Regions from separate parts of the Homo sapiens genome. Here region 1 is linked to region 2. Evidence: promoter capture Hi-C in human tissues and cell types (Jung and others, 2019). All regions are on one chromosome and are shown on one strand. The core of a region is centred on a gene start or on the middle of the fragment in contact, and the rest is flanking DNA. Distances in the headings are between cores, read along the strand shown.

Evidence for each region. Contacts are between HindIII fragments. The study calls those that stand out against the background at their distance.
Region 1: a fragment that was not itself captured here is called in contact with the fragment with the promoter of KRTAP10-4 in region 2 in 1 of the 25 tissues and cell types used here (lymphoblastoid cells).

Annotation. Positions count from the first base shown.
Region 1 is chr21:45,683,821-45,686,520 of GRCh38, forward strand. All of the region lies in intron 2 of PCBP3 (poly(rC) binding protein 3), which reads left to right. Among named protein-coding and RNA genes, the nearest start is that of PCBP3, 41 kb to the left of the region's middle. The HindIII fragment of the contact is 5,038 bases long and covers 1-2,700 here.
Region 2 is chr21:44,572,332-44,575,031 of GRCh38, forward strand. KRTAP10-4 (keratin associated protein 10-4) reads left to right here and starts at 1,398. Exons shown (of 1, transcript NM_198687.2): 1 at 1,398-2,700. The coding sequence starts at 1,428. The coding sequence ends at 2,633. The region is part of intron 1 of TSPEAR (thrombospondin type laminin G domain and EAR repeats); the gene reads right to left. RefSeq lists enhancers at 1,613-2,130, 2,131-2,649. The HindIII fragment of the contact is 6,773 bases long and covers 1-2,700 here.

The DNA.
Region 1 (2,700 bases), core at 76-2,575, 1.1 Mb after region 2:
GAGGCTGAGGCAGGAGAATGGCATGAACCCGGGAGGCAGAGCTTGCAGTGAGCCGAGATCGTGCCACTGCACTCCAGCCTGGGCGACAGCGAGACTCCATCTCAAAAAAAAAATAAAAATAAAAAATAAGGTGTTGCTGGGCATGGTGGCTCATACCTGTAATCTCAGTGCTTTGGGAGGCCATGACAGGAGGATTGCTTGAGACCAGCCTGGTCAACATAGAACCCATCTCTACAAAAAAAAAAAAAAAAAAAAAAAATTGCCGGGTGTGGTGGCACATGCCTGTAGTCCCAGCTTCTCTGGAGGTTGAGGCAGAAGGATCACTTAAGCTCAGAAGTTCAAGGCAGCCATGAGCTATGATCACACCACTTCACTCTAGCCTGGGTGACAGTGAGACCCTGTCTCTAAAAACAAAAGCAAACAAACAAAAAAGTAATAAGGTCCTGTGGAAGTATATGTTAAATCAAGAGGGTATTAAGTATGAAATTTATGCGGTTCTGATGGTGCCATTGGTAAGGAAGGACCTGAGATTAACTCATAAGAGAGATAGAGAATTACTGATTTTACTGCTTGATATAGTGTGGATATTTGTCCTTTCCAAATCTCATATTGAAATGTGATCCCCAGTGTTGGAGGTGGGGCCTAGTGGGAGGTGTTTGGATCATGGGGGAAGATCCCTCATCAATGGCTTGGTGTCCTCCCTGCAGTAATGAGAGAGTTCTTACTCTGTTAATTCACATGATAACTGTTTAAAGAAGAGCATGGAACTTCCCTGCTCCTTGCTTTCTTTCTGTTTATGTGACATGCCTGTTCCTCTTTCACCTTCCACCATGAGTAAAAGCTTCCTGAGGCCTCAGCAGAGGCCAAGCAGATGCTGGTGCCATGATTGTACAGCCCGCAGAGCCATGAGCCAAAACACCTCTTTTCTTCATAATCTTCATAAATTGCCCAGTCTCAGATATTCCTTTATAGCAACGCAAAACAGACTAACACAGTGCTCATAAAATGTCTGTTAAACCAGAGAAATATGAATGGGCAATGCTACAGTTTAATTTTCCATTCTTAGTGTTTATAGTGATTTACATGAGGTTTGATAAATGTTAAGCTATGGAATAAAACACACAGAAGTCTATCTTCCCCACACCCTGCCCCCTGCCACTCTGCTACAGAAAACCATCAATGTATATCCCTGTGACTGTCTACCATATCAGCTTGTTGGCTTGAACATTTTGAGTATTACAAACCATCATCCTAACATTAGATGCAAAGACCAAATGTTACACTTCCTTTAAAAACAAAGAGAGGTGAAATAAGCCAGTCATAAAAGGACAAATAATATATGATTCCACTTAAGTGAGATACCAAGAGTAGTCAAATTCAGAGACAGAAAATAACATGGGGAATGGGTTTTAAAGGTTGTGGGGAAGGGAAAAATGGGGAATTATTGTTTAATGGATACAGAGTTTCAGTTTTGCAAGATGAAAACAGTTGTGGAGATAGATGGTGGTGATAGTTGCACAAAAGTGTGAATGTATTTAATGCCACTTAACTGTACACTTGAAAATGGTTAAGATGGTGAATTTTATGTGTATTTTACCACCACTAAAAAAAATAAAAATAAGAAATACAAAAAGGAAGGAGACCTTTGCCTCTGCCCATGGTGGAGTAACCAGGATAGGACTTATCCTTCTGTTGTGAACAACCAGAAAACTGGAAAAATATATAAAACAACTTACTTCAGACACTGGACAACAGGCTGCACAAGACTGATAAAGATAAACCCTGTAATTCCCAACTTTCTTAGTAAAAGTACTTTTCAAACTGCATGGCAATGAGGGGGAATATAAGCAGAGCCTTACAGCATAACTGAGTTGGTGAAACATAAAAGCTCAGGCAGGCTTAGTTAGTTGGAGATTGTGAAGAGGAGATACATGGAAAGACTCTGAAGAGAAGTAAAATCAGCCCCAAAAATCTGCACTGGGGATTCCTTCAGTCTGTTGCCAAACACTAACCAATAACCAACACATGAGACTCCATGAGGCAAGACAAGAAACAAAAACAAAACAAAACAAAACAAAAAGCCTGTAAGATGAACTTTTTTTTTTTTTTTTTTTTTGAGATGGAGTCTTACTCTGTCGCTCAGGCTGTAGTGCAGTGGCACAATCTTGGCTCACCACAACCTCTGCCTCCTGGGTTCAAGTGATTCTCCTGCCTCAGCCTCCTGAGTAGCTGGGATTACAGGCATCTGCTACCACCTTGGCTAATTTTTGTGTTTTTAGTAGAGACAGGGTTTCACCATATTGGCCAGGCTGGTCTCAAACTCCAGACCTCAAGTGATTCGCCTGCCTTGGCCTCCCAAAGTGCTGGGATTACAGGTGTGAACCACCGTGCCTGGCCTAAGATGAACAATTCACATTGCTCAACAGAGGTTCGGGAGACAATTAGAGTTTTGGCCATCCAGAATGGAGCATCCCTCCTGAACCACCAAGGCAATCAGTAGAGGTAACGGAAAGGTATACCTCAAGAGTAGGTCTAAATTAGCTGTAGAGTAAAAGATACTGTACATCCAACCTAACAAAGCTTAAAAAAGCTGATCCACAAGTAAATTATCTGCATGAAAGAAGACAGTCTACTATTCTTTTAAAAAATAACGACAAAATCCAGACACTTAATGTAATTTTCACAGTGTCTACAGTCATC
Region 2 (2,700 bases), core at 148-2,647:
GCTGAGAAGAAACAGAGCAGCGCTGCTTTCTCAGAGCTGGGAACCAACCTGCGGTGGTGTCGGGAAGCTGGCAAAGGGCGATGTGAACCCCGCTTTTCAGCCACTATTCCCTAAAACCATTCCACGAGGTCAAGCCACACCTCACAAGCAAAGGCTGCTGAGTGCCCAGTGCTGGGCACCTGCTGTCCTGTGCTACCCTCGCCACCCCCCATGCTCCACCTGCCCCAGGCCCAAGTCCACAAGAAACACTTCTGCCGTGCTTGCCTTCCCATCCCGGGTTCTGCTCCCGTGCCCACGTCCTCATCCCAGGTTCTGCCATTGTGTCTGCTTGCTGTGGATTGAATTGTGTCCCTCAAAAGGTGCCGAAGTCCTGACCGCTGGTACATGTGAATGTGACCCTATATGGAAATAGGGTCTTTGTAGGTGATCAAGTTAAGAGGAGGCTGTTAGGATAGGCCCTACTGCAATAATGCTTTGTATCCTTATAAAAAGGGGAGATTTGGACACACACACACACACACACACACACACACACACACACACACACACACACACGGAGAAGCTGTGTGAAGATAAAGGCAGAGCTCAGGTGAGGCCACTGTAAGCCAAGGACCCCAAAGATAGCAGCAGCCCACAGGAGTGAGGGGAGCGGGGTGAGACAGTGCCCCTCGCAGCCTCAGAAGGAACCCATGCTGTCCACTGTCCACACCTCGATCTCAGACTTCTGGCTTCCAAAACCATGAGACACGGAATTTCTGTTGTGTGACCAGCCAGTTTGTGGTACTGTTTGTCATGGCAGCCCAAGGAAAAGAATACATTACAGCATACAAACCATGACTCACATTATCTTTACTTAGAACCCAAACAAACCTCTCTCCCTAAGCTTTCAATCACAGAGGCACATGATCTTGTTCAGCAGCCTAGAAAACCAAGGCCCAGCGGAGCCACCCGTAGGCACCCACTCCCCATAGCCTGGCACACACACACGGCAGAGCCACCCACAGGCACCCACTCCTCATAGTCCAGCACACACACGGCAGAGCCACCCGCAGGCACCCACTCCCCATAGCCCGGCACACACGTGGACCATGCCACCCTCCACGTGCGCCTGGGGAGCAAAGCAGCACAGCCTGAACTGCCCCTCAGCTCTTCCTCCTGAGTCTAAAACACGCACATGCGCCCCAGGCCAATTCCAAGTTTTGTAAACTGAGCAACAGCTCTTGGGAAACAAAAACACAGCTACTGTTTATTCTCCTGGAGCTGGCTGTACACCCCAACAAGGAAGGGAGGGCTTGCTGAGCCTCCTGTCTGGACAACATGCACCAAGGAGGAGTATAAAAGCCCCACAAACCCGAGCACCTCACTCACTCGCTCACCCACTCCCTCCCATCTCCCCCAGCTCAACCCCCAGCACAGCAGCATCCACCATGTCCGTCTGCTCCAGCGACCTGAGCTACAGCAGCCGCGTCTGCCTTCCTGGTTCCTGTGACTCTTGCTCCGACTCCTGGCAGGTGGACGACTGCCCAGAGAGCTGCTGCGAGCCCCCCTGCTGCGCCCCCAGCTGCTGCGCCCCGGCCCCCTGCCTGAGCCTGGTCTGCACCCCAGTGAGCCGTGTGTCCAGCCCCTGCTGCCCAGTGACCTGTGAGCCCAGCCCCTGCCAATCAGGCTGCACCAGCTCCTGCACGCCCTCGTGCTGCCAGCAGTCTAGCTGCCAGCTGGCTTGCTGTGCCTCCTCCCCCTGCCAGCAGGCCTGCTGCGTGCCCGTCTGCTGCAAGACTGTCTGCTGCAAGCCTGTGTGCTGTGTGCCCGTCTGCTGTGGGGATTCTTCATGCTGCCAGCAGTCTAGCTGCCAGTCAGCTTGCTGCACCTCCTCCCCCTGCCAGCAGGCCTGCTGTGTGCCCATCTGCTGCAAGCCTGTCTGCTCTGGGATTTCCTCTTCGTGCTGCCAGCAGTCTAGCTGTGTGAGCTGTGTGTCCAGCCCCTGCTGCCAGGCGGTCTGTGAGCCCAGCCCCTGCCAATCAGGCTGCATCAGCTCCTGCACGCCCTCGTGCTGCCAGCAGTCTAGCTGCCAGCCGGCTTGCTGCACCTCCTCCTCCTGCCAGCAGGCCTGCTGCGTGCCCGTCTGCTGCAAGACTGTCTGCTGCAAGCCTGTGTGCTCTGAGGATTCCTCTTCATGCTGCCAGCAGTCTAGCTGCCAGCCGGCTTGCTGCACCTCCTCTCCCTGCCAGCAGGCTTGCTGTGTGCCTGTCTGCTGCAAGCCTGTGTGCTGCAAGCCTGTCTGCTCTGTGCCCATCTGCTCTGGGGCTTCCTCTCTGTGCTGCCAGCAGTCTAGCTGCCAGCCAGCTTGCTGCACCTCCTCCCAAAGCCAGCAGGGCTGCTGCGTGCCCGTCTGCTGCAAGCCTGTGAGCTGTGTGCCTGTTTGCTCTGGGGCTTCCTCTTCATGCTGCCAGCAATCTAGCTGCCAGCCAGCTTGCTGCACCACCTCCTGCTGCAGACCCTCCTCCTCCGTGTCCCTCCTCTGCCGCCCCGTGTGCAGGCCCGCCTGCTGCGTGCCCGTCCCTTCCTGCTGTGCTCCCACCTCCTCCTGCCAACCCAGCTGCTGCCGCCCAGCCTCCTGCGTGTCCCTCCTCTGACGCCCCGTGTGCTCCCGCCCAGCCTGCTGAGGCCTCCGCTCAGGTCAGAAGCCCAGCTGCTGATGGA